Regions from separate parts of the Homo sapiens genome. Here region 1 is linked to region 2. The links are contacts of gene promoters, found by promoter capture Hi-C in human tissues and cell types (Jung and others, 2019). All regions are on one chromosome and are shown on one strand. Each heading gives the region's core, a stretch centred on a gene start or on the middle of the fragment in contact. The rest is flanking DNA. Distances are from core to core; before and after follow the strand shown. Region 1 holds the start of ACTR1B (actin related protein 1B). Region 2 holds the start of ANKRD36B (ankyrin repeat domain 36B).

Region 1 (6,137 bases), core at 3,229-5,728, 72 kb before region 2:
AGGGAAGTCTCTGTTCCAGGACGTGGGCTCAGATGGCCATCTTCTCCTTGGGCTTGCAAGACATCTTCCCTCCATACACACCTGAGTCCACATTTCCTCTTCTAAGAACACAGGATCATATCGGATTAGGGCCTGCCCTAATGACTTCATTTTAACTTGATTTCCTCTGTAAAGACCCTATCTCCAAATACAGTCACATTCTGAGGTTCGGCGGGGTGGCTAGGACTTCAACATATGAAGAGAGGGTACCATGTAATCTGTAACAGCAGGTCATGGTAACCACAGAAATCTTATTTCTCTAAAATACCTTCCAAAACAAAAACAAAAACTAGAATAAAAAATAACAAAGAATATATAAAACAACACAAAACCCACACCCTCACCACAACCACAGGACAGAAAATGTCCAAATTCCAAATGACTGGTAAATAGAAAAATAAATGCTAACCCGGGCTCCATCTCTTTTGCTTCTGCTGCTGGCCTTTGCAAAGAGGAAACCTGGAGGTTGAAGAGGGTCTAAAATCTCCATCCTGAGTTTGCAAATGCTGAAAGCGTAACCTGGTTGATCAGTACAAATACCCAGGGGTGGAAGTGCCCTGGGGACAGGAGATTGGTGAGACTCTCTCACCAATGGACTCTCTCTCCCTCTCTAAAAAAACAATGATGTTTATTCAGGAACGGGCATTACAATGGGAATAAGTATGGATGTGTTCCAGGAGGTAAAGGAAGACATTTTTTAAAGAAAAAATGAAAAGGGTTACATAGGCTTTTATAAGACAATCATCTTTGGGGCCAGGCACGGTGGCTCACACCTGTAATCCCAGCATTTTGGGAGGCCGAGGCAGGCAGATCACAAGGTCAGGAGATCGAGATCATCCTGGCTAACACGGTGAAACCCCATCTCTACTAAAAATACAAAAAATTAGCCAGGCGTGGTGGTGGGCGCCTGTAGTCCCAGCTACTCGGGAGGCTGAGGCAGGAGAATGGCATGAACCCGGGAGGCGGAGCTTGCAGTGAGCCGAGACCGCACCACTGCACTCCAGCCTGGGTGACAGAGTGAGACTCCATCTCAAAAAAAAAAAAAAAAAAAACTTAGCTGGGCATGGTGGCGGGAACCTGTGATCCCAGCTACTAGGGAGGCTGAGCCAGGAGAATTGCCTGAACCCGACAGGTGGAGGTTGCAGTGAGCCCAGATTGCGCCACTGCACTCCAGCCTGGGCAACAGAGAAAGATTGTCTCAAAAAAAAAAAAAATAAAAAAGAGACCTGAAGGTGCCTCATATACTGTTCAGAGACATTCATGCATATAACAGTCTACACTCGGTGTCTGCTTTCTCTTTGCTTTTACTTAGCAATGTGTCCTGATATGTTTCATATGAAATTATATAGCACTCTCTCATTATTTTTAATGGCTACACAGTGATCTATTTTATGAATGTATAAACACTAGATGCAAATGAATACATACCAATGACTTCATCTGCACAAAGTCCAGAAACAGGCAATACTAATATGTTTTCAAAATTCAGGATAGAGGTCACCTCGGAGGAGGAACAGGTCAGAGACCAAGGGGTAGGAGCTGACGGGGGGGCTGTTCATGCTATTAGGAAAACAGGAGCCTAGGAGAGACAGGGTGACACCATTTTAAAATCAACTGCTTTTTTTTTTTTTTTTTTTTTTGAGACAGAGTCTGGCTCTGTCACCCAGGCTGGAGTGCAATGGTGCGATCTGGGCTCACCGCAACCTCCATCTCCCGGGCTCAAGCCAACCTCCCACCTCAGCCTCTGGAGTAGCTGGCACTACAGGCGCACAACATCATGCCCGGCTAATTTTTGTATTTTTTGTAGAGACAGGGTTTTGCCATGTTGTCCAGGCTGGTCTCAAATTCCTGGGCTCAAGCAATCCACCCACTTCAGCCTCCACAAGTACTGGGATTACACGCATGAGCTACCGTGCCCATCTCAACCCCATCTTTTTTTTTTTTTTTTTTTTTGAGACGGAGTCTCACTCTGTCGCCCAGGCTGGTGGCGCGATCTCGGCTCACTGCAACCTCCGCCTCCTGGGTTCAAGCGATTCTCCTACCCCAGCCTCCTGAGTAGCTGGGACAACAGACGCATGCCACCACGCCCAGCTACTTTTTTGTATTTTTAGTAAAGACAGGGTTTCACCGTGTTAGCCAGGATGGTCTCAATCTCCTGACCTCGTGATCTGCCCGCCTCGGCCTTCCAAAGTGCTGGGATTACAGGCATAAGCCACCGCGCCCGGCCCCAACTCCATCTTAAAACTAGCAAGGCACATTCCTTGCTAGTCCCAACCCATGGTCATAAGATGCTATGGCTAAAAGAGCAGTTTAGTAATGCCTGCAAGGACAAAATCCTACAACAACAAAATGTCCAGATGCTCCAATATTGCCTAACAATATATGATTTAAGATAGTTATAGTTACAGGACTCGATGGCTCACACCTGTAATCCCAGCACTTTGGGAGTCCAAAGTGGGTGGACTGCTTGAGCTCAGGAGTTCGAGACCAGCCTGGGCAACATAGCAAAACCCGGTCTCTACTAAAAATACAAAAAAATTACCTGGGCGTGATGGTGCACACCTGTGGTCCCAGCTACTTGGAAGGCTGAGGCAGGAGGATAGCTTGAGCCTGGGAGGTGGAGGTTGCAGTGAGCTGATATCAGGCAACTGCACTCCAGCTTGGGCAACAAGGTGAGACCCTGTCTCAAAAAAACAAAACAAAACAAAATATATATATATATATATATATATATATATATATATAGAGAGAGAGAGAGAGAGAGAGAGAGAGAGAGAGAGAGAGAGAGAGTCATGCTTTGATGTATTTATGCATTAAAATGCCAAGGATAACTTTCTTTAAATCAAAAAGCACTAAATTTTGTTATGCTGTCAGCCCACCCTCATGTAGACATAGCTTAGTTTTTACATAGATAAGACCCCTCTATAAGAAGAGTTTAATATAAAGAGGGTGTGTTCCCCCTCTTGCTTTCTGAGGATGGCCTACTCTGTAACTGAGTAGCTTTCAATAAACAATCGCTTCTCACTGCACTCTGCAACTTGCCTTGAATTTCTTCTGGGCAAGATCCAATAACCCTCCCTTGGGGTCTGGATCGGGACCCCTTTTCCAGCAACAATATTGTTTCTTGAACTCGGTGGTTATGCAAGTGTGTCCACATTTTAATCATTCATTGAAATGTACATGTACACTTGTGATTTCTGCACACCCGCTTCAATTTTACAAATTTTATGCTCACAACCCATTGGGAGAGGTATATATACAGGGAAATAACTATGGATCCGTTTGGTAAACAAATGTAGAACTCAACTATCCTGCACTCTTGAAGCAGCTGACTCCAGTGCCGCAGGGGGCTACCTGCATGCCAATTCCACACCCAATAATCTTGGGCAGGTTACCAAAGTGTGAAGACCCTGACTGAAAAATGGGAGTAATAATACAACTACCTGATATTGTTGCAAGGATTTAATATAACTTATGTAAAGTGGGCAGAAGTGCTCCGCAGGCACAGAGCAGGTGCTCAATAAATGCCAGGACCAAAATACCACGAAACTGTAATTTTTATAAGGAAAAGGATCTTTTCTTCAGTGCTCAACGAGGAAATATTATGGGGCCGTGCGCAATAGCTGACGCCTGTAATCCCAACGCTTTGGAAAGACTAAGCGGGAGGATCGCTTAAGCTCAGGAGTTCGAGGCTAGCCCGGGGAACATAGCGAGATCCCTTCTCTACAAAAAAAATTTTTTTTAATTAGCTAGCGTTGCGCGGTGGCCGTATGGTGGCCAATGAGGTTTATCCGAAGCGCGATTATTGCTAATTGAAAACTTTTCGCAATACCCCACCGTGACGACTTGCAATATAGTCGACATCGGCAATTTTTAACAGTCTCTACGGAGACTATTTCAGTAAAAATAAATAAATATGGTGCGCGCCTGTAGTCCCCCCTACTGGCTGGCGCGGGAGGATCGCTTGAGCCCAAGATTTCCAGCCTGAGCGACAGAGCAAGACACCTTACCTAGAAAAAAAGAAAAAATAAATATTTTGGGTGAAATATCCAGGGCCGGCCTCCTTGGAGAGGGCGCTCTCACGAAGGAGCGTGGCCCGAGGTGCTGGGACGCGGGAAAGACGTCTTTCTGGACCGGTGCTGGGACGCGGGAAAGACGTCTTCCTGGACCGGTGAATTTCCAGCTCCACAGACTCCGGCCGCGCGCACACCAGCCCAGCTCCACTTTCTGCCGCCCGCGTCCCCTTTAAGACGGAGCCATGACATCATCCCAGACACTGCGCAGCCTACCTTGGCAACGCCGCGACCACTTTTTTCCGGACGACCTCAATTGGCTGGCCAGCCTCCGGAGGCCCCGCCCCCTTCGCGCAGCCAGCCCCGGGCACCTGCTGTCAATCGGGCCAGGTGGGAGCGATGATTGGCCGCCGGGCCCGCCCTCCAGAAAGCCCCGCGGGGCTCGCGTAGGCTGCAGGCTCGGGGAGGGAGGGCAGCGGCGCCGCGTCGGGAGCCGCCGCCGTCCCGGTCCTCCCGCCCGCCCGCCCATCCGGTGCCTCCTGCAGCCCGCCTGCTGGGCAGGGCCGGCGCGGCCCGGCCATGGAGTCCTACGACATCATCGCCAACCAGCCTGTGGTCATCGACAACGTGAGGCCCGGCAGCCAGGGGGAGGGCGGGCGCCCCGCCCCCGGGGGCGCACGCGGCGGCGCAGGGAGAGACCCCCGCCCGCCTCGGCGCGTCCTCCGCTCACTGCGTGGCCGTCGCCCCCGCCGGGCCGCTGGCTTCGCCCCGGGGGCGCGCGCCCTCTTGGCCTTGTAAGGCCGGCCATGGGGCGAGCCCCCTCGCCCGCGTCGCAGAGCCTCTTCCCCGACCCCTCCCCGAGTCGGGCGGGGAAGTTCAGGAGAGCTTGAGTGACAGCCGGGCGGCCGGGCGGGGACGCGCCCCGGACTCTTCTCAGTTGAGAGTGCGGTTCCTGGGCAGGTTTCCACACCAGTTCCTTTCCGCGTCCTTCGGCCCTGGCTCTGGCTGCCTGGCGGAGGTGGGGTAGCATTTGTCATTTGCACACTGCTGGCTTTATCTTTGGGGCTGCACCCCGAGGCAACAAATGCAGGATGCTCTGTCACCCACATGTCCACCACCATCTGGTTTGCCTTTTGGCTACTTTGACTTTCTCCTTAAATGCTTCCTGTGCTGAGCAAACATTCCACAGCCAGCAGAGCAATGGAGAGTTCATGGCCACTCTTCCCAGTATCAGCAAGCAATTTGGGGTGATCGTTTGGAAGCCTCAGAGGAAAGATGTCATCAGGCTTCCTGTGGCTTTGTCCTTCAGCAGTGGGGCTCGGCTTGCTTTCACCTGCCTTAGGAAGATTTCTGGCTTCCGAGCTCTGATATGGGGAGAAGATAAGGGCTGGGATCTTTGAGTCTGCCCCTAGCTGGGTATGTGCGTCCGGTGTGCGGGCCTTGGAGTTTTTGGTAATGACTCACTTGTGCTCTTTCTGGGATCTGTCTCCCTCCCACATGACCCCGTGGGGTCCCTGAATGACTGTTTTAGAGTACCCATGTGGGTTCCCTGAGTCACAGCAGGGGATGTTTAATAAGGAGGTTAGCACTGAGCTTGGGGACGTGCTGTCACACCAGCAGGACGCTGCAGGAAGGAGCAGGCTACTTCCTTTCTTGACGTGCAAATAACTCGTATAGGCTAATCAACAGGCTTATAAGTTAAAAGGGCTACCGCTCGGCCCCTTGGGGATTCCATCCCCTCCTCTGTAACTTGGAGATGTTTGTTTCTGCTGCAGACTCAGAGGGTTGCGATGAAGAGTGGTGGGACTGAGTTGAGAAGCTTATCCCTTCGCTGGGTGGGAGGTTTCTAATTGCCCCGTTCTTTGGGGGATCCTTAAGTCCAGCTTCCAGGTGGGGGCAGCGATAGGACCAAGTTCTCCTAGTAGTCTCTGGGAAGCCACTTGAGGGAAGCTGCCGGTCATCCCATGCACCCATTGGTCTTCTCCAGCAGGCCCTGTAGGTCGTCCATGTTCCATGCCTTCTGGGTTCTTGGGGGAGAAGGAAGCTGTTGAAAAAAAAAAAAAAAGACCCACACAGAGGGGTTTC
Region 2 (5,735 bases), core at 1,514-4,013:
TCCTGTTTCTCCCCAGCATCTGTTTCCACCAGTCACCAGCAAGGGGAGGATCGTATAAGGACACCCTTCAGTGTCAGTGTGCTTCACTATGCTCAAAATCACCGGATTTGGAGGTGGATGTGGAGGGTGGGGCTGGAGGACGGAAGAGGAACTTAGGAGCTAAATGCTGTCCCTCTCTATTTTGCTCCAGAATGTTCTTTTCCTTTCTCTCTTTGAGTCACCAGTTTCTTTACTGTATTAGGCTATGCCCCTTTCCTTGTTTTATTGCTATCAGTCATTTCTTATTGGCCTTTATAATTTTATTAGTACCAGGATGGAAAACTCTACAATATTGTTTTTCTCCAATACCGAAGGCATCTCCTCTCCTCATCCCTGCTCTTTCCCTCCAGTTAAAAAAGATAAATAAACACTCCCTGTTGACAAATGTCTTTTCTCTTTTCTGTAGACTCTGCGAGTTCTCCTTTCAGTTTATGCTTTTGGAAACAAAAGTCCTTGTCTGTCCTTCAGGTGTGAGTCAGAGCCAGATTCCTGACTAAATGGAGGGAAGGTTAAGAAAAAATACAATGAGAAATTCATTATAAGAAATTATTTTGTTGTCATCTAGTCATGTAAGTTTTTTCTTTAGTGGTGGTAACATGTGCTCATTCATCGTAGTTCGTTGCTCATGCCACGTGGTCATTGTCTCATGCTTATGGGCACCTCTCTTTAGTGACACCCACCTATTGGGGGGTCCCATTTGTAAAGAATTTTGTTGATGTGCTGAATACAAATTGATTTCCTAGAGTCTTGTCTGTTTTGGGCTGCTATAAAAGAATACCATAGACTGAGTAATTTATAAAGAACAGAAATTTGTTTTTTCCACAGTTCTGGAGGCTGGGAAGTCCAAAATCCAGGGGCCATTAGATTCATTGTCAGGTGAGTGTCTGGTCTCTGTTTCCAAGATGTCGCCTTGAAGGCTGCATCTTCCAGAGAGGAGGAGTGCTGTGTCCTCACATGGCAGGAGACTGAAGGGCAAAAGGAGTCTAACTTCCTCCATCATTCCTTTTTCTAAGCATATCTAATCCTATTCATGAAGGCAGAGCCCTCATAGCCTAATCACCTCCCAAAAGGCCCCACCTCTTAATACTATCACATTTGTAATATTTGATTTCTGGAGGGGATACATTCAAACCATAGCAGATGCTCATGAAAGTAGAAACAGTGGCTAATGCCAGAGAAAGAAGCTGAGGATCTGGGAAGTCTTACTTGTGGATTTTACGTTATATGTTCCATTCCCACATGTAAATAAATGAGTTAATTGAAATGGAAGAAAATGAAGAAAGATGGAGAATTGTGTCATGGAACAATGGACAGCAGTCATAACATAATGGGTGAAAACAAAGCTCAAATACATGAGGATGATTATATCTTTAACGGTATCTCGAAGCTGTAAGAGATCAAGTCTTGACTTCTATGTTAAAAAAGAAAGAAAACTGATGACCCATATTTAAACTGAGGCATGTGACATTTCTGCTCTACTCAGCACTCTTCACTCATCTAACAAAAATTCATTATGGCTTCTTATGTTCCAGGCACTGGGCTAGGTGTTTAAGGAAGACAGAGGGAGGAAATAAAAATTTTTATAAAACAGTCTTTGTCCTCAAGCAGCTCACAGGGCAGAGAGACCCTGACAGAGTAGAGATTTCATGAAGAGTGGGGATGGGAAGGGCATTCTCTCCATACGCATCCCTGTCCCACCTCGGAGATTTCCTCCTCAGAACGCTACCTCTTACTGCTTTCCTGCCTCACTCTTTCCAGCTCTCAGTTTAGAAGGTGTTTCCTCAGAGCACCTTTGCTGACCTCTCAAGTCTGGTGAAAGGCCCTTCTCACTGGTGCCTGGATGCCCTGTGTGCTCCTGTCATACACACAACACAGCATAGTAAAATGCCTGGTGTATGTGTTTGTCTTTTCAATACTCTGAGCTCTGCTCATTGGCAAATCTCAGGACATAGCACAAGATGTGGCCCCTAAATGTTAACTGAATGAACGAATGGAATCACTGGTATCTCTTTAGCTTGAAGAATAGAAAGCCCTTGTAGGACAAAGAAGATTGGGAGAAATGTGAAGTCTGGCGTGGACTCTGTCAGAAGGCAGAACTGAACCAATGGATGGACTTAGAAGAGAGAGACTTCGGTTTCACATCAGGAATGATATCATAGTCAGAACTCACCACACACATAATAGGTTAGATGAGGGAGGAGGGAGTCCTTCATTGCAGGAGTTTTAAAGGTGAATACAAGAAATGGGAGGCACTTGGCCTGGCGCGGTGGCTCAGGTCTGTTAATCCCAGCACTTTGGGAGGCCGAGGCCGGTGAATCACAAGGTCAGGAGTCGAGACCAGCCTGGTCAAGATGGTGAAACCCTGTTTCTACCAAAATACAAAAATTAGCCGGGTGTGGTGGCGGGCACCTGTAATCCCAGCTATTTGGGAGGCTGAGGCAGAAGAATCACTTGAACCTGGGAGGCAGAGGTTGCAGCGAGCCAAGTTTGAGCCACTGCACTCTAGCCTGGGCGACAGAGCAAGACTCCGTCTAAAAAAAAAAAAAAAAAAGAAATGGGAGGCACTGAGTTTCTGGCTCAGTTTGTGATGCCAGAAATACAGAGATGACTGATCAGTAAAATCCACTAGAAAGTGTGTGACAGGTTTCTTTTTCCTTATATTTTTCTTTTTTAAATACAAAAGTAATAGCAGCCCACTGAAAATTTGAAAAGTATATGGCATTAAAAAGAGAAAAATAACATCTGATAATCCAACAAGATAAACTCTCTAAAATTTCTTTTCTCTTTTTAAATGAATATAGTTAAGCTTGAAATAGAATTTTAAATTTATCCTGATGTTTTACTCAACAGCGGAGAAGCATCTTTTATGTCATTATTTTAAGTCACAACCACTTTTAGTGATGATGATTAAAGAACCATTTGCTTTTTCCTTACTGTTCCCTGTTTTTAGATTTTTGGCTAGTGTCTAATTTTTCCCTGTTATAAATAATGCTGAGATGAACAGAATATGTAGATTTCTAATAATTTGCAAATGAACAGCATATGAAAAACATGGGCAAAAATTTTGCAGTTATAATTACTCAACACAAGTTTTAAATAAATTACTTTTATTTTGAGCGTTCATTCTTACATATGTTATAGGAAGTAAGAAGCATTCCTTACTCCTTAGAATTTTGTTTATAAATTAGTGATGAATTGGAAAGGGTAGCTTGCCCCTGGAATTCTCTGATAAGCACAGGTGATGAGGAAAATGGAGAAATCCAAGAATTCTTTTGTCTTTCCTTAAAAGTAGTCAACTTTAAGTGCAGTGCAGGCGTGCCCTCTAGCGGCCAAATAAAAAATAAATAGGCCTTCAGCCCTGTAACAATCGCACGTCCCCATCTAGTGGCTAACGTCTGTAAATGCAGCTTTTCTAATCACAATAGCGAATGTTACTTGATTTATATTTGTCTTAGGTGAAGAACTGGGAGGACTCTTAGAGATCACGTATTTCAACTTCCTCACGGAGTGGCATGCAGGCAGCAGCAGCCTTGGGAACCCCGATTGCCCCTCCTCACACCTGCCCATCACAGGACTTGGGCGACGGGGTGGTGAAGTCAGGCTGTGGCCCCAGCGGCGCCACGAGGCCGAAAACCGGCGCTCAGCCTCATCCCGGTGGCTGCGGAGTGCCAAGCGCCAGGTCCTGCGCTCTGGGCGTGGGTCAGGAGCAGCTGGCAAGGGCAGCGCAGCCTATGGGGCCTTTGGGCGCGGCCGGCCGCAGCTCCGGGAAGCCACGTCAGCCCACGGGCGCTGCAGCTGCAGCCGCCACCAGCACATGGAGCAGGGGTCCCCGAGGATTGGGAATCCCCGACCAGGCCTGCGCCTCCAGCCGCGCGGACCCCGGGGCCAGCCTGGCCGCGGCAAGTCAGGCAGTCTGCGGCAGGAGCGCCGGGCATGGGCTTCGGCCGGGGGTGCAGGAGGCGCGCACCCTCCGGCCGGATGGCGGCGCACTCAGGGCTCAGGAGGCCATCCCACGGGAGCCCCGCCAGCCCCCGCCGGAGCCCGAGCTGCAGTGCCGCCTGCAAGTGGTGCGCTGGCTGCAGCTGTGGCAACCCCGGATACCGTCCTCCCGCCTCGCACCCATCAGCGCGGACCCCGGGGGCGACGCAGTGGCGATGTCGGGCTGTGGGCCCAGCGGTGGCACTAGGCGGAGAAGCACCACTCAACCCCATCCCTGGGCTGCAGAGGGCCCAGCGCGGGGGGCTCCGAGCGTCGGGAGCCTGTGGAAGAGAAGAGCGCGCGGGCGACAGTTAAACAGGCCCTGGGGCAGGGCGCGCCTCGCGCTCCAGGGAGCCCCGCCCTCCCGCGGCACCTCCGCAGCAACCGCCGCCTGCACCGGGCGCGCGAGAGCTGCTAGGGCGGTTTCTCTGCCTCGGGCCTGTTGGGCAGGGCCGGCTAAGGTGCGCGTGCTCGCTGGTTCTAACCCTTCTGTTGGGCGTTTCTGCGGAGAGGCGGGAGGCGCTGAGAGTCTGCGCGGAGGTCCGTGCACAGACTGCTTTGCCTGTTGTTGCTCTTCGGAGGCGGCGATCCCCGAAGGCGAGCTGAAATACGGCTGCAGGCTACAATTTGCAGCCGACGATTAAGGAAGACGACGAGCGGGAGAGGTGGCCCACCCTCATGGAGCGCTTGTGCTCGGATGGCTTCGCATTTCCCCATTACTACATTAAACCGTATCATCTGAAGAGGATCCACAGAGCTGTCTTACGTGGTAATCTGGAGAAACTGAAGTACCTTCTGCTCACGTATTATGACGCCAATAAGAGAGACAGGAAGGAAAGGTAATGGGGGCCGGGAGCCGGGGCTGCGGGAGGAGGCCTGTGGATGTGGAGAAGTACCCCTTTGCAGGCTGAGGGCTGCGGGGCGGATGGTCCGGGGCTCGGGGTATGGACGGGGGCTAGGGGGTGCCTGGCTGGGGTGGGAGTGAGTGGAGCGGGGCCTGGGGAGTGGCGGTATATGGGGTGGCGGGGTGTGGAGTGAGTTGGGGGATGGGAGTGGGGAGTAGGGGGTGCATGGGGTGGGGGCGTGAATGGGCTGAGGTGGATGGAATGAAGGCTTGGGGGGTAGGGGCGTGGATGGTGTGGGGTGGGGAGATGGGGTGAGGGTTCAATGGGATAGAGGACTGGAGGTGGGGGTGAGGTGTGGGGGTGAATGGGGTGGGGGAAAGGGGTGCAGAGGTGAGGGGGGCGAGTCCTGTCACCAAAGGGGCTGGACTTTCTTTCCTGGCAGGCTCAGCCGCACCTGGGATGTGGAAACCTTGGCGGGGGCGAGCACCCAGGTCATTTTCACAAGCAGCAAAACAAAAACAAAACTTCAGCTGGTTTCCAATCACTCACCATGCTGCTTCTTTATAAATCATTTTAAAGTGATTTCACTAATAAAATTCAGCATGTACAGCGTTTTATTTTTAACGTGCACATTTTAAAGCATAATGTTACATACATTATGGAAAGGTGCATAATGAGAGAAATCATTTCCATAATATATCAACTTCCTGGCTAAAAATTCTTTGGATAAAAATCCAATATTTATTTGATATCAATGGACACCTATGTCAATTTGGTTTTCACTGAGGGACCTTAGAGGGAAACTTTGAAGTGGGAAGATGGTCTGTGTTCTTGAATAGAAAGACACATTTTTCTAAAGTTCTGAGCTCTTTC

What was found. The method cuts DNA at HindIII sites, captures the fragments that hold promoters and counts their contacts. A contact is called where the count stands out against the background at its distance.
Region 1: a contact is called between the fragment with the promoter of ACTR1B here and a fragment that was not itself captured in region 2, in 5 of the 25 tissues and cell types used here (adrenal gland, dorsolateral prefrontal cortex, heart right ventricle and 2 more).

Annotation. Positions count from the first base shown.
Region 1 is chr2:97,662,385-97,668,521 of GRCh38, reverse strand. ACTR1B (actin related protein 1B) reads left to right here and starts at 4,478. Exons shown (of 11, transcript NM_005735.4): 1 at 4,478-4,679. The coding sequence starts at 4,632. LOC124900516 (U4 spliceosomal RNA) reads left to right here and starts at 3,791; the gene lies at 3,791-3,931. It also overlaps a transcript of C2orf92 not described here and the pseudogene RNU4-8P. RefSeq lists enhancers at 3,960-4,299, 5,340-5,409, 5,375-6,016 and silencers at 4,380-4,839, 4,920-4,979. The HindIII fragment of the contact is 10,185 bases long and covers 1-6,137 here.
Region 2 is chr2:97,588,646-97,594,380 of GRCh38, reverse strand. It overlaps ANKRD36B (ankyrin repeat domain 36B), which reads left to right and starts at 4,504. Exons shown (of 44, transcript NM_001393939.1): 1 at 4,504-4,856. The coding sequence starts at 4,696. RefSeq lists a silencer at 3,870-4,059 and an enhancer at 3,852-4,352. The HindIII fragment of the contact is 9,129 bases long and covers 1-5,735 here.